Linked DNA regions of Homo sapiens: regions 2, 3, 4, 5 and 6 are each linked to region 1. Evidence: promoter capture Hi-C in 16 types of primary human blood cells and fetal thymus (Javierre and others, 2016). All regions are on one chromosome and are shown on one strand. The core of a region is centred on a gene start or on the middle of the fragment in contact, and the rest is flanking DNA. Distances in the headings are between cores, read along the strand shown. Region 1 holds the start of ETS1-AS1 (ETS1 antisense RNA 1). Region 2 overlaps FLI1 (Fli-1 proto-oncogene, ETS transcription factor). Region 3 has its middle 130 kb from the start of LINC02098. Region 4 has its middle 150 kb from the start of LINC02098. Region 5 has its middle 140 kb from the start of MIR6090. Region 6 has its middle 35 kb from the start of FLI1.

Evidence for each region. The method cuts DNA at HindIII sites, captures the fragments that hold promoters and counts their contacts. A CHiCAGO score of 5 or more calls a contact.
Region 2: a contact is called between a fragment that was not itself captured here and the fragment with the promoter of ETS1-AS1 in region 1, in 10 of 17 cell types (total CD8 T cells, activated CD4 T cells, neutrophils and 7 more). The highest score is 17.6, in total CD8 T cells.
Region 3: a fragment that was not itself captured here is called in contact with the fragment with the promoter of ETS1-AS1 in region 1 in 14 of 17 cell types (activated CD4 T cells, non-activated CD4 T cells, total CD8 T cells and 11 more); the score reaches 34.9 in activated CD4 T cells.
Region 4: a contact is called between a fragment that was not itself captured here and the fragment with the promoter of ETS1-AS1 in region 1, in 13 of 17 cell types (activated CD4 T cells, non-activated CD4 T cells, naive CD8 T cells and 10 more). The highest score is 18.5, in activated CD4 T cells.
Region 5: a fragment that was not itself captured here is called in contact with the fragment with the promoter of ETS1-AS1 in region 1 in 9 of 17 cell types (activated CD4 T cells, total CD8 T cells, naive CD8 T cells and 6 more); the score reaches 17.7 in activated CD4 T cells.
Region 6: a fragment that was not itself captured here is called in contact with the fragment with the promoter of ETS1-AS1 in region 1 in 9 of 17 cell types (total B cells, total CD8 T cells, naive B cells and 6 more); the score reaches 12.8 in total B cells.

Annotation. Positions count from the first base shown.
Region 1 is chr11:128,524,588-128,527,613 of GRCh38, reverse strand. It overlaps ETS1-AS1 (ETS1 antisense RNA 1), which reads right to left and starts at 1,472. Exons shown (of 4, transcript NR_120581.1): 1 at 1,299-1,472; 2 at 196-1,081. The region is part of intron 3 of ETS1 (ETS proto-oncogene 1, transcription factor); the gene reads left to right. The HindIII fragment of the contact is 5,425 bases long and covers 1-1,873 here.
Region 2 is chr11:128,776,057-128,779,082 of GRCh38, reverse strand. The region is part of intron 4 of FLI1 (Fli-1 proto-oncogene, ETS transcription factor); the gene reads right to left. Among named protein-coding and RNA genes, the nearest start is that of SENCR, 82 kb to the right of the region's middle. RefSeq lists an enhancer at 1,750-2,355. The HindIII fragment of the contact is 3,048 bases long and covers 1-3,026 here.
Region 3 is chr11:128,340,328-128,343,353 of GRCh38, reverse strand. No RefSeq gene overlaps it. Among named protein-coding and RNA genes, the nearest start is that of LINC02098, 130 kb to the right of the region's middle. The HindIII fragment of the contact is 4,157 bases long and covers 1-3,026 here.
Region 4 is chr11:128,359,645-128,362,670 of GRCh38, reverse strand. No RefSeq gene overlaps it. Among named protein-coding and RNA genes, the nearest start is that of LINC02098, 150 kb to the right of the region's middle. The HindIII fragment of the contact is 2,597 bases long and covers 227-2,823 here.
Region 5 is chr11:128,378,228-128,381,253 of GRCh38, reverse strand. No RefSeq gene overlaps it. Among named protein-coding and RNA genes, the nearest start is that of MIR6090, 140 kb to the left of the region's middle. The HindIII fragment of the contact is 1,048 bases long and covers 934-1,981 here.
Region 6 is chr11:128,657,868-128,660,893 of GRCh38, reverse strand. No RefSeq gene overlaps it. Among named protein-coding and RNA genes, the nearest start is that of FLI1, 35 kb to the left of the region's middle. The HindIII fragment of the contact is 620 bases long and covers 1,173-1,792 here.

The sequences.
Region 1 (3,026 bases), core at 223-2,722:
TCTACCTCCTCAAGAGTCCAATTCAGGACAATTTAAATTGGAATCCCAATTACATGATCCCCAAAGGCTCACAGAGTAGCCTGCATTCTGCATTTGCAGCAATTCCAGGCAACATGCTCAGCCTGCTTCAGGGAAGCACACAACACTGAGTGTGGATGAGACCTCAGAACCCTCTAACCTTGGGCAGCTCCTTACCTCTTCCTGTCTGAGCCATGTTTGATTTGCTGCAAGAGGAATACGTGTCTAAACTGCTGGATTTTAAAATGTCGCTTGGTCTGTGGATTAGGCCAATCCACCCCACATTGTTGGGGCTGCAGATGCAGTTGAATGGTTCATAATTATAGTCTAAAGAAACTGCAGACAGCAATAGAGCCAACCCAGGCCCTTTCTCTCCTGACAGCCCATGCCAAGCTGTCTCCCACAGGGAACCATAGTGTGGTTATCCTGCAATGTATTTGCCCAAAGACAATACATCCAGTGTAGAGAAGTTGGATTTCTAGAAATTGAGTCTGCTCATCTATCTACTCCCATGTCCATTGTATCCTGTCTTGTGTCTCAAGGGTGTCTGGTACTTCTCCTGCCAAAGTGAAATGCAAAGTAAATGCAAGGAGATGCCAGGGAGAGAACTGCTATCAGGGCATCTGGTTCTAGTACTGACACTGACTTTTTTAGATTGTGTGGCCCTGGAAATAATAATTTCCTCACTCACACTCATTTTTCACCTCTGGTAAATAGGAGTGCTGGACTTGGAGAGCACTGATAAACTCCCATTGAGCTCTAACATGTGACAAATCCAAGACCTAAGGTTTTGTCTCCAAAGAGGCACTACAAATGTGATCTTCTTTCAGAATTTAAACTGTCACTTTTCTGTGACTCAAAACAAATATAAATCTAGTTCTCTTCTCCAATCAGGTAGTTCTCGAATTTCTCAAGTGAGGCTGATGCTGGGCAGGTTGCCAGTTTAAGAACTGAGGAAGGGTCTTGAAGAGATTTTTAAATGAAATGTGGTGATAGTTGTTCTATCTCTCGCTGGAGATCGTTCAGGAAAATTGAGCATCCAAGCTATTCTGCAAAGAGATGGCTGTAGACAGACATTTAATGTGATTTCCCACATATTCTACCGTATACTAGATCTTAATAACAATAATCAAATACTAATTCTCACCTAGACACTGTGCTAAATTCTTTGCATACATTATCTCATTTAATCATTCAAATAGCCTTAAAAGGTGTGTGCTGCTATTATCCCTAGTTGAAACATGGAGGAACTGAGGTTCGGGATTGTTTAAATGACTTACCTGTGGCAATTCAGCTGGCTAGTTGGTAGAGTAAGAATTTGAACCTGAGTCTTATTCCAAAGCCCACACTACTATCCTCTTTGTTTTCTTATATTGAGCTTTCCAGGGCAAACAGGCTCCCAAGTCCTCCCCTCTCCCCCAACCCCACCCCACCCTCCCTTCTTCCCTCCTGACTGCAGCTCCTCCTACCCTCATTGTTTATTGTGCCTTCTAAACAATAGCCAATGAGTCTGTGTTCCATTCTAGGGAGAGCTAGGGCTGATTTTATTCCCTGAAACAGAGATGAGGTTGTGACACAAAAAGGTTAAGTGGCTTTGGTGAGGTCACAGAGCCAGCCTGCAGTCAGCAACAGTACCATCTGAGTCCCCTGGCTTGGGTCCCTTAACTGACCCTAAGGCTTTTTGGCATCCAAGTTTAATTAAGAGAGTTATTTTAATTTTCCTTCCTATCTCTAATTTTCCATTTTATTGCTGCTTGATAATGTAGATATTGAAGTGCCAGGCATTTTTCTTCCCTAGTGTGACTTTTAATGACTAAACTTCTCACATAGAAACCACTTGCCTTAGAAGTAAGCTTTCAAAGCTTGTTTCTGTGTATGACAGAGACTGTTGCCTTTTCTCAGAGAAAAATGAGACCACAAATGCAGCTCAGACAGGTTGTTGTTAATTGAGGGCTTTTTTTTTTTTTTTTTTTTTTCTAAATCTTACATTTATACCAGTAAATCAACATCTGTGAGTCATAAACTGGTTCTGGATCAGCCGTTAGTGGTCTGAATGTTTTTGTACCTACCTTCAGTAAAGCATATTTTAGCTCAAAACTCAGAGATTCTTTGTTTTGTTGAAGTTCAAGACTCAGGAGTAGATAACATGCTAGGACACTTCTGGAGAGGGAAAGTCTGTCTTCCATGATTGTTCAACATTAAGTGTATATTTATATTTCTTTTTTATTGAAGTTGGGGTGGAGTTGAGGGAGGAGTATAAATAAAAAAGAAAGTATGCTTTTTACATACTCCATGTGCTTGAGGAATTCCTGTATGAAGGTGACTATTTTCTTAATATTATTGTCTAGCTCCACTCTTCTGTTCCCCAACTCCTGCGGACTTTTCTTGGCCCTTATTGACTTCACGTTCCTAGTGTAAGGCAATTCAGCACTTGGTAGGATATAATTAGCCGAAGTCTAAGGAATGCTTAAAAATACAATTCTGTTTTTTCCCAAATGCAGGAGGAACAGACTGCTGCAGTACAAGCACAAGCACAGAAGTATTTATTTGATTGATTTTTTTTTTTCCTGAGTGCCTTAAAAACCAGATATGGTATTGAAGTATCTTGCCCAAGTGGATGAAAGGCAACGCTTGGCTGCTGTTGTTTGGCTGGTGGGGACACTGAGGCATACATGTAACCGAGTGGACGTGAGTGCTGGGGATAGAGGTTCTGCTCTACTATGAAGGGAAAAGGGCACAGCCTCTGACACTTTTTAGTTCATCTTCACAAGCCAGAGCATATCAAACTCACTTAATCATTGAATTAGGAAGCCCATAGTGACCAAAAAGTTGATAGTTCATCATTCAACACATATTTATTGAGCTCTGTAATGTCTTAGGCACTAGGCTAGGCATCAATGTTTTAGCGTATGATAACATAGAAATATCATTTAAAGTCCATATGAACATTTAGAAAAATCTACTTGTGTCCTAAAGAGAATGAATAAAAATTTCATTTATCAACATTG
Region 2 (3,026 bases), core at 275-2,774, 250 kb before region 1:
TGCATGAAATGTATATTTCATGGCAACCTAGGAAAAGGATTTTGCCCTAAAGACTGTTCTTGGTTCAAGTTTCACTCCTAGAAGGAGAGGCTGCCTTCCCCAAGGAGGGGCTGGTTGGGGGCATCTGGCCTCTCTCCCAAGGGACCTAGATTCCCTCCTCTTCTCCGATTTCTACTTCATTAGTTCCCCAGGCTCTGTTTTCTTAAGGAACTTGTTCTGATGCAGGCAGGTCCTCCTGGAGTCTGGCCTCCCTCTCTGTGGCTTTGGACTGCTTTCTCCTGCCTTGAGGCTCTTTCTGGCCTGACCCTGCCACAGGCCTGTGCTGCTGAGCTCCCCCACCTTCCCGATGCCAGCACATCAGGGTAAACAGGCCATGATGAAGGTGGTGGTGGGGACGCAGTGCTCCCTGAACATGCACGGTGTGCCAGACGCTTTCCATCTATTTTCTCACTTAATCCTTGCATAAGCCATACAGAGCCAGCATTCCCTTATTCCTTTTTACAGATGAAAGGAGCAACACTCAGCGAAGTCATATCATTTTCCCAGGATCACACAGCCAGAGAGTGCAGAAGGCAGGAGCCCCATCGTGGTCTATTCACAAAACCTGTCCTCAATCTGGCAGATCCCACTGCCTCCAGGCTAAATCGTAGAAATAGGCAAAACTCACCTATGGGGCTGGGAAGCAGGGTGGTGGTTAGTTTTGTGGAGGAAGCGGTTGTGGGGTGGAGAGAGGGTACAGGGGGCTGAAATTCTACTCCTTGGCCCGGGAGGTGCTTATGGGAGTGGGTGGATTCACGTCACGATAATGTCTCACGTAGCGCACTTCATGATTTTTGCACTTCTCTCTGTGTTGTACTTCAGTTCAAACTGAAGTATAAGATTTGCCTACTTGGTTATTTGTAAGTTTCTGTATATGTGTTTGTATGTATATATTTGTATATGGGTGTGTATGCATATACATATATCTATTTATTGAGGGCATTTTTGCTCTAAAAAGCATAAAGTAGCTCCTGCTGAGAATAGAATGGCCTTCCCAAAGTGCAAGCATGGGGAAAAGATCATTTTCCATTCCATGTTTGAATCCATGTGCTGCTAGAGACAGTACCTGGATCTGAAAGGAGAGGGGAGTGAGCAGTGTGAGGCTTTGCAGGTGTGGGGTAGAACCCCAACAATCACGGTTTCTGCTGCTTCACATTCCCTCAACCTAACCTGCTTTTCATCGGGGACACCTGGGCCAGGGGGCGCAAGCGTCCCAGTGCCAAAGCCTTTGTCTCCTGCCTCGCTGTGACCATAGAATTCACCAGTGCCCCCTCACAGCCAGCCTATTGAATCCAGGTCTCTCTTTTCTCTGGGCTGCACTGCTATATCAACAGCTCTGGCTGAGTGTGCAGGAGCGGGAGGGTGCAAGGCTCTGGGATCTTTAAACAACAATCCTGGCTGACTACTGGGTCCAGGGAAACCTGGCCTTTTGTTCAGCTGGCATTCTGTTCTCCTTCACCAGTCAAACCCAGGCCTGGAAGTGATAAGATTGCACCAGCTTAATTGCCCAGACTCAAAACCTCTGCCCGACCATCTGAGGCTGCAGGTGGAAAGACCAGAAAATGCAAAATGTGTTTTCCATTAAAGTTTAAATTAAAAATGGGAATGAAGATAGACACCCTTTCCGTGGTCTCCCGGTCGCGCAGTTTCATTCTTTTGAGCAGCCACTGTTTGAAGACGCAGTTTCTTAGTGTTTTTTTTTCCAGGTCAGACCCAGATTGACATACAAAACGAACTTGTTTGTAAAACTTAAAAAAGGCTCTTTTTCTTTCTGCCTCCCCACCTCCCCCGGGGCCTCGGGGCTCCCAGCCTTGCGCAAACTCCCCCCAGCGGCCCTGAGCCTGAACTGCCAGCCCGGCGCCCTCCGTTTCTTCGAGGTCCTTCCCCGCCTTGGCCTGAGAAGGGACAAATCTCGTTCCCGCAGCAGCTGCTGCGAAGGCTCCTCTGCCACACGGGGTGTGTCCGGGAGAGATACTGGTGGGGCCGACAGTCAGGCCCAGAGAAGGACAAAGTTAGCGTGGTGATAGGTTTGGCTTAATCGGCCTCCTTCCAGGAGGCCACAGGAAAGTTTTTGGAAAGCATTTATCTCTTGGTACAAATGACAACAGAAAATGCTGTGGGGGAAGTGGCCGGGCTGCCCACGTGGAAGGCCGGGAGTGAGGCTGCCTTGCCTGTGTGGCGCAGGCTGGCTTGCTGTCTCCAGGGCCGGGGGAACGTCGGCAACGCGAGGCCAGGGACTGGGACTCCAGAGGCCCTAGTCTGAGATGCCAGGTGCTCTCAATCGGCTGGATGCCTTTGAACCAATTTCTGAAGCTGTCTGGGCCTCAGTGGGTTCAGCTTCAAAATGGGTACTGTAGATAGTTGTCCACAAGGGGGCAACCTTTTTTCCTCTGAAGACAGAGCCTCGGTCTATCGCCCAGGCCAGAGTGCGGTGGTGCGATCTCAGCTCACTGCAGCCTCCCCCTCCCGCATTCAAGCGACTCTCCTGCCTCAGCCTCCCAAGTAGCTAGGATTACAGGCGCCCACCACCACACCTGGCTCATTTTTGTATGTTTAGTAGAGACGGGGTTTCACCACGTTGGCCAGGCTGGTCTCCAACTTCTGGCCTCAGGTGATCCACCCGCCTTGGCCTCCCAAAGTGCTGGGATTGACAGGTGTAAACCCTGGAGTTTCCCAGGACTCATGGGAATTACCCCCAAGAACCGTGGCCACCCCAGCCATCACAGTCCTCCTTGCATTTCCTGTGGTGGTGGGGGGGAGGGGTGGGCGCCTGTGTGGCGTGTGACACAGCTCCTCTGGCACAGCTGACACGCCCAGGTGTGAAGAACAAGCACCTCCCTAGCATGCCTGGCCATCAGACAGGGTCTGTAGGGGCACAGGGAACTGCTATTTCTTCTCTACCCTGGAAAATACATTTGCATTTAAAATGTAAAAGTCTAGCTCCCCTCCCAAACCACCAGAATAAATAGTCAAGCACCTTTTGTGAA
Region 3 (3,026 bases), core at 290-2,789, 180 kb after region 1:
TGTACTGTTTTCTCAGATCTCCCCAGAGTCAGTCATCAAAATCATGCTGTCTGTTGCCAGCCATACAGATGGTACTTCTTTTCAATCTCTAAGTCCTTTTATTAACTAGAACAACAGCAATGTTTTAGATTCCTGTGCTACAGGGCATTTTTTTCTTCCCTGTGGCTGGCCCATGTGTTTAGGGAGGGCCGTGAAGGCTGAGTTCAGGGCTGCCTCTTGTTTCCCCCTGGCCTCCTGCTGCCAAAGTCTCTGCTCTCAGCCTTGTCAGGCTTAGCCCAGGAAACATCTGCAAGGGCACTTCACGGTGACGCATTCTCAGGATGAGACAGCCAGGCCTCAGAGCAGCCTGCTGGGCCCATCTCCTCCAGAACATGTGTGGGGAGGCTGAGGAAAGAGAACTTGGGGCTGGGCTTGTCACCTGGGGCACAGAGGGCTCAGATGACGTGATCCTATTGTCTAAAGGACAGCAGTCTGTTGTTTTTGTTCTTTTTAGTAAAATAAATAAAGCCTCCCATTTCTATGATAATGCATGAGCCACCAGAGCATGGCTTGATGGTCCCACCTGGACTCAATGCCTGGGCTGTCATGGAGGGTTATGGAGCAAGTGGGTGACTAATTATTTGCACAGCTCTGGCCTAATGAATAGCTTTGGATAGAGAACTTCCTGGAGTCAGCTGGGGAGTACTCCACCCATGCAGCTTGATTACAGAAGCTATTTTGAAGTGCATTTTTGTTACTCCCAGAGGCGAAGGCCACTTGATGGGCCAGATTGCCCTCGTAAGCCAAGCATGGCTCATTCTCATTGCACCTGAACATTCGGCACGTCCTGCACACAGGAGAGGGTGTCTGAGTGCTGCCCTCAAAGTGTGGGCTTCCTGCACCTATCCTGTCTCCGGCTTCTCTTCCAACTTTTGTTATTTCTGGGGAGAATGACTTCAGCTTGGGTTGCAGGCGAGGAAAGATTTTGAAATGTTTCTGTGTTGAGGAGTAGGTCCTCTCTCTGTCTTTACCTTCCCGTGTGCAGAAACTGCAGAGGACATGTGTTGCCCTTCCGGTGGCCTGGGAAGCTACTGGTTTTCCTTTTAGGACACGAAGGGTAGACTAAAGCTATGTTTTCTGCGATGTTTTACTTTAGTCGTGCTCATGCACTGTGCCAAAGATACTGAAGTGTACTTCCTAAAGAGGAGAAATAAAAGTGCTGGGGGCGGGGAGTTTGATGGGTTGGTCGATAGGTGATCCGTGATTGAGCATTACAAAAATGAGGCCTGAGCTGCTGGTGCTTAAAGTTATTTCTAAATGCTTGCCGAGGCGCCTAACTTCGCTTTCTTCTCAGTGCAGATCTCCTTTCACTGAGGTCCTGTGCGGGGAGCTTGTTTCTTTGATATGGAAATGTGCACATTGATTCCTGCTGGAGGACCCAGGAGCCTCTGGGACCCCGCAGCTCAGGAGGCAGTTTTGGGTTGAAAGTTGGGGAGCGGAATTCATCTGGTCTCTGTTTCCACTTCCTTCCTCCACGCTGCTGTCTGAAGTTTGTTTCTCTTCTGGCTTTCTCTTTCCTATCTCAGATTCTTTCCAGTGCTTAGGGAAATCTCTTTCCACTTTTCCGAAAGCAAAATAAATGAAGCCACGATAGAGGCTGCCCTGCTCCTCAAAATACCTATGGGGGTAAGACGTAGAAATCCTAAAGCTGAAGTGTGATTTGGGAGATGGGTACGCTATGCCCTGCCCACGAATAATTCAGAGTAATAGGTAGATTCTGCCTATTTTCTGAGTGGCTTTTAGATTCACTAAAAGGTGACATTGGATGAGGTTTCAGGCAACGGAGCCAAGACAGGAAACTCAACCAAGATGATCACCAGGGACACGCCCCTGCATTTCCTCAGAGTAAGAGAGATCATACATCTGACTTGAGGCTTTTAAGCAAGGAGACTAAAGGTTGTTTGGCACAGTACAGTATTCATTTTAAGAGACTACAGACATAATCCAACTGTGAGATTCTAATCCTTTCTACGGCTTTTCCTTGGAAACAAACTGTAGGCAAGTCGTTATAGCCATGGTGCCCCTACGGTCAGCATGTTTTTCGATGCCTTCACAAAATATGAGACTAGAAAAAAGAATGACTGGGCCCAAAATGTAAAAATAAAGCTGTAAATAAAAATTAATACATATTTAACTTATTAATAATTTTGTCAGAGACTGTAGCAATTCAACACAGATTATTTTTCCCCCTATTTTACTGAGGTATGATCGACAAATAAAATTTGAGTATATTTATCATGTACAACATGATGTTCTGATAGATGTATACATTGTGAAATGATTACCACAAACAAGTTAACTGATCCATAACCTCATAGTTATCTTTTGTGTATGTGTGCAGTGAGAATAGTTAAGATCTACTGTTTAAAAATATTTCAAGGCCAGGTGTGGTGGCTCACGCCTGTAATCCCAGCACTTTGGGAGGCCGAGGCAGGCAGATCATGAGGTCAAGAGATCAAGACCATCCTGGCCAACATGGTGAAACCCCGTCTGTACTAAAAACACAAAAATTAGTTGGGCATGGTGGCGCGTGCCTGTAGTCCCAGCCTCTTGGGAGGCTGAGGCAGGAGAATCGCTTGAACCCGGGAGGCAGAGATTGCAGTGAGCCAAGATCATGCCACTGCACTCCAGCCTGGGAGATAGCAAGACTCTGTCTCAAAAAAAAAAAAAAAAATCAATTATATCATATAGTATTGTTATAGTCACCATGCTGTACATTAAGTCTCTAGAACCTATTCTCGTAACGGAGAGTTTGTACCCTTTGACCACATCTCTCCTTTTCTCTTTCCCCCAGCCCCTGACAACCACTATTCTAATTCTACTTTCTGTTTCTATGAATATGACTTTTTTAAAGTCCACATATAAGTAAGATCATACAGTATTTGTCTTTCTCTTATCATATAGAATTTGTCTGTGTCATTACACATATTGTTCTTAGCATAATGCCCTCAAGTTTTATTCATGTAGTTGCAAATGTCAGGATTTCG
Region 4 (3,026 bases), core at 276-2,775, 160 kb after region 1:
CCCAGGGGAGAGGACTGCTTGAGCCCAGGAGTTTGAGATGAGCTTGGGAAACATAATGAGACCCCATCTCTACAAAAACATTTAAAAAATTAGCTAGGTAGGGTGGCACATGCTTGTAGTCCCAGATACTTAGGAGGCTGAGGAGGGAGGATTGCTTGAGCTCAGGAGGTGAGAGAGAGAGAGAGAGAGAATAAAATAGGTATGATTATCTGAAACCTTTAAAGCTTTATGCCATTTATCACCATTGCATAACTTACAGGTGATTATAATAACATAAGAGGCTGTGGTGAATGAAGCTATTAAATTAGAACAATTTTAATTTAAATGTTAAAATGCATACAACATTGAAATGCCAGTGCCCTAATGAGGCAAGAGCCCTTTAAGCAAGAGGGTTTGGAAGGTGGTTTATAGAGACATCCCTAGAATCTTTTAAGGACCATGAAATATTTATTCAAAAAGTTGTCATAACTCAATTTTTTTCGGGAATATTTAGTTCCACTTAATGAATGCATTAAGCTCAGCTGTGTTTCTCAAAGAGCCAGCTGAAGGAAGTACAGAAGTGGGAACAGAAAAACAGAAATAGAAGACGAGCAAAGGTGAGAAAGCAAATGCAGAGCAGGAGGGGTGATGGCAGCTTCACACTGCTCATAGCGTTTGTTTATTCTCGAATCCCGGGAGTAGGTGATTTATTAAATAAGGCCCTCTGCAATCACACCGCCAACCTCTCCACTAAAAATAGCAGTGGGCTGGTTTGAACTTCATGTCAACCTCATATAAACTGGCATCAGTTGTGTCTGCTGTCCTTTGACGGTGTGAGGATTGGGACTCTCTGGGGCTGTCCATCCCTGTGCGCACCTTGGTTGTGGGGCCAGTACACTCCCTTCCGCCCACTTCTCATCAGCCCAGCAGAGTCCAGTTCCTGGTGGGCTGGGGAGCAACAAACAAGGCCAGGGTGCTGAGGACTCATTAGTGACCTGCCTGGCTGCCAAGTGTGCTGAGACATCAAGCTGCTTGTGGCAGTCTGTGGTTTGCTGGGAGGAGATTAATGAGGGAATAGAATAAACACGCACATTGGTTTCTGATAAGAGGAGGGCAGACATTTCAGGACAGGCATACAGCCTGCCTCACAGTCATCACTTCCCCTGGGGCCCATGTAAACACACACACTCACATGTGCTGATGCAGACTTCTTCTCAGCCCCAAACACAGCCAGCTGATAGGGAGGAAGGCCAAGATATAGGAAACATTTCTTTCCTCAGATCTTCAAACTCAATTATACCCATCCAAGAAACGAAATAGATCTTCTTATAACATGAGCTTAAAACTTGATTAACAGTAAGTTGAATTGGCAAACACATTTCTGCTGAGGATGTTGATTGGATAAAATATTTAAATGATTTTATACATGAAAAAATAGAGTTGGAGAGTATATGACTTATTTCAAGATTATCCAACAGTAGTGCTAATGTTTCTTTGGGAGACATGGACATTTTTGTGAATCTGATGAAAGCTAGAGACAGTGTCCCCAGAAAAATGAGTGCATGCATGCGCGCACACACACACATACACACACAAACACACACAGCTAGAAAGAGATAGAGACAGAGACAGAGATAGACCTACCGATGCCATTTCAGGAGGGTTGTATTGTCTCTGAAGCTCATTTATGGACTCCAAAATGGGTTCAGAATAAAAATCCTGGCCTAGCATATCATGGAAAATCTCACGTGGGTTAGAGAAATCTGAAAATTTGGTGAGAGTGCCCTACTAAGAATTTTGCTAGGTACTTGATGGATATTATTTCTACTTTTAATAACAATTGTGCAAGGTAGGCACCATTTACCTCCCTTTTACCAATGAGAATATTGTGACTGAGAGAAGCAAACTGACTTAGGGAGACGGGGTTTCCTAGTGCTTAGGAGCCTGGGCTCTGATGTCAAATTACATGGGTTCTAATTCTGTTTTTTCCACTGATCAGTTAGAAGATTCCAGACAAGTTTCCCATCCCTTTGTGTCTCAGGTTCTTCAGCTGTCAGTGGGAATAATGATGGAACTTATTTCATAGGCTCTTATGAAGATTAAATAATATAAGACAAGCTAAGTGCTTAGAACATTGACCTGGGCACAGTGAGCATGAGATACATTTTGTTGTAATCGCTGTTTAGGTCAAGGATCATAAAGCTATAAGTGGAGGAACCAAAAATCAAACTAGGTTTTGTCTGGCTGGAGCCTGTACACTTTCCTCCACACCTCGCAGGTTTCTAAAACCTGTTTTACATTTGGCCTTTGGCAAATCATGTAATGTTTCCAAACTTGAGTTTCTGCATCCATAAGATATAGGCAATGATAATAATAATAAAACACCTTCCTACTTTTTTGGAAGGATTAAATATGACAACAATAAGTACATTTTAGTAAACTGTCAGGTACTGTGCGAATATCCAAGGTTGTTACTATCAATGATGAAAGGATAAATCTAACTCAAAGGGCTTTGTGTTTTCACTTCTACACTTATGTTCATAGAATTAAATCTGTATCATGTGCAATCACCTTCAGATCTATCTTGGATTACACAAGTCATTGGGCAGGGGGTGGTCATGGTTCTGAAACAAAAATTCTATGATCTTCGTGACTGTTAAGGAGATAAGGTAGGGTTTAACCACCCCACTGGACTTTCAATAACATTTGGCTAAGGTAGGAAGAAAAAACACACACACTAAATGATTTTATTAAAACAAGTGTTTGAGGGTCACATTTATGTTTATTCCAAAATTGAAAGAACATAGTAGTAGCCAACAAGTTCATTATGTTGGCACAGAAGCTTATACTTTTTTAAACATCAAGTTCATTGTCCTCAGCTGGAATGCATGATTTCGGTTACTTTTCAAAAGGTCAGTTTATTTCTGTGAGTAATATTTCTGCAATGCTAAGAATCAGAGGCCAAAAGGGGAAAGAGGACAGGGCCTGTGGAACAGATTATATTCCTGTCTGCGATCCCTTAGGGAAACTTAGAAACCAGAGATTAG
Region 5 (3,026 bases), core at 208-2,707, 150 kb after region 1:
AAAGGCAAAATTTTAAAAAACTGGCATCTAGAAATCTCAGAAAAAGGATAGAGCATTATAAGAAAGAACTGTAATCATGAAAACACTACGTTACTCTGCTTTGTGCAATACTGACACAGTCAAAATAACAGGGATAGGGTTAGTTGACTTTCAACTTCTATAATCAGCTCAGTGATGCAAGCTGGCTATGGAATAAAATGTACCTTCCCTCCTCTGTGACAATATAAAAGAAGTGCGCATGTGAGAAATTGGGAGGTAGCAGGTGGTGCGGTGGGGAGAGCTGAGAGTAGAAAGAAAAGACAGGGATGCTAAAAGATGTTGCCTTTAGTTGGTAAAACAAGAAACAAAAGTATGATAATAAGTAATTACAAAAGATTAAAGAATAAATGACATAATTTTTATTTACTACGAGATTGGGTTTAGGGTGAGTTTGTGTGAACTAAATCTTAATCTATCATAGTGGGGATTCAAAAGATAATGTATAAAATGAATAAATTAAAAGTGCAGGCAAAAACATGCATTGTCTAGAAAGATGGCACTAACTCCCAGAAAAATAGCCCAAAGAGTTAAAAGAGTTTTCTCTGGGGAGGGGAAGGGGAAGAGGGAAGGGACAGAGGCCTTTCATGTATAAGCCCTTTTTATTATTCTTTATTTCAACCATGTGCACACATATTATTTGATAATTGAAAATATATTGTAAAAAATAATTTATTTTTACTTTCTATCCTCATAATGCAAACGTATTTTATATTATTAATTTTCCACTTACAGCTTTAACAAAAACATTTTCCTTGACAGTACATGGCCTTTATGATGATTCATTTATATGATGATGTAATATTTTGTATGGTTTCTCTGGCAGTCCTGATCCATTCATATTCCTTCTCTCAGTTTTCCTGTGTCTATGAATACCTGAAAGAAGTGGTTGAAGCTTGGGGGAGCAGTCTATGGCCAAAGAAGGACATTGTTTTTCTCTTTTTTTTCTCTGAAAATAGCTAAATATTGACCTGGGCCTCATTAGCACTGTGCATTAACCAAGTTCAAAGCACCAGGCAGAGCTGTGTAGAGGTCTCGCTTACTGCAGCAGCCCCTGGGTGGTGCACACACACCCTGAGACCTACAAGGTTAGAGACAGTTGCATCCCAGCCTGGACAGCATCAACCCAAGGCTGCCCTTTGCACTGACACTGCTCCCAAGTTCATTTGAAATGGGGACTGCCAGAAAGACAAGTCTTCATTTGCAAAGCAAGAGCATGGTTTTAATTATCCTTTAGATCCATAAAAAAGCAAGGGGGGTGGGGATAGATTTATGGCTTTAAATTCTCTTCTTTGCCATTTATAAAACAGTATTTATCAGGTGTGGGGCACATGGCAGCTCTGGGGAGTGCCAGACGGGGATCAAAAGCAAAGCATAAAAACCTTCCCCTTTCAACATACCTAATCTCTTCCTTCTATCTATAAATGGCCACATTTACCTCCTGGCTCAGAAAAGTGATTCATTCTGGCACTTTGCTGTTTGAGGTATCAAGAGTGAGTAAGAGTGTGCAGGGTCTGTACTAACTGCCCTTTGATGTTTCCTTCAGAAGAACAGAAAGATGGCCAACAGCCCCTGGTGGGTGTTGGCACTGCCATTGCCTTGGAGAGTGTCCCTTTCACAGGGAGACATTTGCATCCTTCTACTAGAGCATCATATAGGAACACAGCTGGAGAAATAGTAATAAATCATTCATCTTTTCAGTGCTGTTTAGTTATCTCCTATATACCCCCGACACTGCCAGGTCATAGTAGATTCCAATGAAGTGTAAGATATGATACCTTACTTCAGAAAGCATCAATGTTTGTTGACAAGAAAATCTTGTACGTAGTAGAGTCGTAGATTATTAAAACAAGTTTTGGTGGTGTTGAGTTTTGGGAACAGATGATCATTGGTAGGGCTTCAGATTGACTTGGGTTTTCCCAGAAGGTATGATGTGGGCTAAGCTTTGAACAATGGCTTTACGGACTGAATGTTTCTGCCCCTCTCCCTGCCATTCCTATTTCTAGAGTTGAAGCCCTAACCCTAAGCATGGCTGTATTTGGAGATGGGGCCTTTAAGGAAGCAACTAAGATTAAATGAGGTCATAAAGATGGGGTCCTGATCTGATATGATTAGTGTCCTTGTAAGAAGATATACCAGAGGGAGACCTCCCTCTTCCTCTCTGCCATGTGAGGACATAGCAAGAAGGTGGCCATCTACAAGCCAGGAAAAGAGCCCTCACCAGAAACTGAATTTACCACAACTTGATTCCAGACTTCCAGCCTCCAGAACTGTGAGAAAATATTCTGTTGTTTAAGTCACCTCATCTGTGGCATTTTGTCGTGGCAGCCAGGGCTGACCAATACAGATTGGTAGGATTTCAATAGAAAGAAAAAGAGAGAGCATTCAAGATGGGTAAAATACAAACACAAGCCTGAGACCAGCATAAACATGGCATGGGTGAGGGACAAGAGGAGAGGGTACATGTTAGAATTGCGTACTGGGCCAGTGGTTTCTGGGTGTGGTATGTCCCATTCTTCTGAATTGTGGCTTGTTGACCAATAAAAACCTGTAAAGGGCAGATTTAGGAAGCATAAATACATTTGCTTCTAGAAAACAAAGCAAATTTATTTGAGTTCTTTGTAGATTCCGGATATCAGCCTTTTGTCAGATGAGTAGATTGCAAAAATTTTCTCCCATTCTGTAGGTTGCCTGTTCACTCTGATGGTAGTCTCTTTTGCTGTGCAGAAGCTCTTTAGTTTAATTAGATCCCATTTGTCAATTTTGGCTTTTGTTGCCATTGCTTTTGGTGTTTGAGACATGAAGTCCTTGCCCATGCCTATGTCCTGAATGGTATTGCCTAGATTTTCTTCTAGGGTTTTTATGGTTTTAGGTCTAACATTTAAGTCTTTAATCCATCTTGAATTAATTTTTGTATAAGGTATAAGGAAGGGATCCATCTTCAGTTTTCTACATATGGCTAGCCAGTTTTCCCAGCACCATTTATTAAA
Region 6 (3,026 bases), core at 233-2,732, 130 kb before region 1:
AGCTATGCTATTCTTGTTGAGAGCTGGGACAAGAGATAAGAATTTATTTTTTCCACGGAGGTAAATTTCCTCAAGGCTGGGATGCCAGGCAAAGTTTTCACTGAAACAGAAAGGGTGGGGGCAGGGAGGTAAGCTCTTAGATACTTTGAAGAAAAGTCCAAGGGTACTTCCTATAACCCCACCTTGCCTGAGATGGGGAAAAAAGAAGACTTCAGTAATATCGTCTCCACGTCCTCTGCAGAGAACTCCCTTCTGTAGGCCACCTGTTGAACGTTATCCCTAATCCTGCACTCCCAAGCTATATCACTCGCTCCTCCTGCTGACTCCGGAAAAAGGCTACTCTGTTGTTGCTGTTGTTGTTTTGAAGTTCTCTTGTCTTTTCCAGGCTGAGTTGAATTTAACATGAATGGCTTAGTCTTGATGACACTCAAAAGTTAGGTAAATGTTTACGCCACCCAGCCGTTAGTTGGAATTCTGTAGGAATACTTGTGACTCATGTGAAAATCCTTGTGGATAGTTTTATAAAGTTGTCTTACTGAAAGAGAGTATCTGCATTTTAGAAAATCCAAAGCAAATGTCTGCTCAGTGAATCCTTTTTTAACCACTGGCTTCTCTCATGGCTTCTCTCTATTTCACATTTGTAGAGTGTATTTCCCACCCATAGCTGTTTTTGTTCTAAATCATAAGACTCTGTGGTGTAGCTTCGATTTTTTTCAAATATTCTCTTACTTGTTTGCATTTTCAACCTTCTCTACTCCCTGTAAGCCTCTCACATCCCTACTTCACCTCCTGCCCAAAGGAGGACCTTGCGTCCTACTGCACTGAGAAAAGAGAAGTGCTCAGGAGGCAACTTCTTTACCTTCCTGCAACCAAATCTGCAAATTCCTATCGGCCTCCATATTACCCTGCTCCTTTCCTATGACAGTGGAGAAAGTGCTCCTTTCCTGTGACAGTCTCTTGGGTCACCATTTCACAGACTAGGAAACATGCAGAGTGATAAAGAACTGTCCACGATCTTGTATCTAGTCAAAGTCAGTGGCAGATGACTTTGAACTCAAGCCTCCCAATGGCCCCAATGCTGTTCTCACTGCATCATAGTGCCTTTTAATTTTTAAAATTAGGTAAGCAGTATTTTATTTCAAAATGTTTGCAGTGGACATGTCTGTCAAGCTTCCATGCTCCCTGCAGGTATTTGCAAGAGAACGGGATCTCTGCATGGTGATACATGTGGCTCTGGGGAGGTTGACTGTACCCTCAGCTCTAGCTGTGGAGAAATCACCTAGCAGCATCTCCCAACCACAGTGATTGGTTCAGAAGTGGGCCCATGTCCTAAGCTGGTCCAATCAGAGTGGCACGTAGATGGCTCCTCTCCTTCTGTATGGTATGGTGTGAGGATGGGAAGCCTGGAACCATTGTAGCTATTTTACCAGTATGAGGTAAGTCAACCTGGAGATAAAGCTAATCACAGAAATGGACTGAAAACAAGAGATTTGCAGGAAATTAAAGCAGGTTAAATCATAACCCAACCTCCTCAGTTATGTTAGTCATACATTCCTATTATTATTTAATTCACTTTGAATTCAGTTTTCTGTAACCTATAACAGAAAACACAACTGACAGATATAACTTTTTTCTGATTAAAAGATTGATTTTTTATACATGACATAGATAATTCTGAAAAATATAAAGAAGAGATGAAAATAATCTATAATTTTACTACCCAGAATAACTGCTGTTAACACTTTAAAGGTTCCTTTCCAGTGTTTCTTGGAGAAGAGATAGAAATTAAGCTTTGTTTGTACAATTTTTTTTAACTATTATATTACATGAAAATTTACATGTCCTTGTGTGATCATTGAATATGGCAACATGTTTAAACCATTTATATTTATTTTCAAAATAGCTATGGTTGAACTTAACATTATTTAGTTTTACATTTTGTGTATTTGTCATTTCTTACAATTTCATTTTTAAAATCACTTGTGTTATATAAAACAATTTTTAGATTTAGTTTGTTAAAAGAAAAACGTCAGCTGAATTACATTTAAAGGAGTTTACTTAAGCAAGGAACGATTCGCTAATCAGGCAGCCCCCAGAATCACAACAGATTCAAAGAGACTACATACAGTGCAGCGACGTGGTGGAAGATTTATAGACCAAAAAAAAAAAAAAAATGGGAAATGACATACAGAAATCGGAAGTGAGGTACAGAGCAGCTGGATTGGTTGCAGCTTGTCCTTTGCCTTATTTGAACACTCAGCAGTGTATGGTTGAAGTAGGGCTGCTGGGATTGGCCAAGACTCAGCTATTGTTACAGGCACATACTCCTAAGTTAGGTTTTCAATCTTGTCTACCTATGAAGTTAAGTTGCAGTTCATCCACAAGGACTCAAATACAGAGGTGCAGGGTCCTCAGGCCATATTTAGTTTGCTTTAAGAAGTTGTCCTTAAACATTTACTGAGCACTTGCCCCTTGAAAGTTTCTGGGAACAATGAGTTCCTGTCTTTGTGGAGCATACTGGCTGGTGGAGAAGGCAGACGTTTAGTCAGAAATACACAAAGATGAGCGTATTATTATAAATATGGTGATTATTTTAAAGGAAATGACATGTGTACGAGTTTAGGTGGTGTAGTCACTCATTTAGACCTGTGGGTAAACAGGAGGGTGGGCTGTGAAGTCAGGGAAGTGTTCCATGCAGAAATGATGCTTGAGTGGATTAGGCAAAAATGGAAAGAAGTTAGCTGGAGTGAGGGAGGGTGTGTGGGGTCGGGGAGACCCTTTTCTGCAGAGGGAGAAGAATGGGCAAAGGCCACGTCAGGAGGCAGCTCGGCACATCTGAGGATCTGCAAGGTGGCTGTTGGAATGCATAGTGAGGGGAGATGGTGGGGTGCGGCTAGAGAGAAGGCAGAACTAGACCATGAAAGCCTTTAGGGGCCATGCTAAGGACTTTGTACTTTCTCTTGAGAAAACTGGGATGGCATCAGAGAGTTTTAATCTAGAGGAGGCTGATAGCATAGACCCGTGAC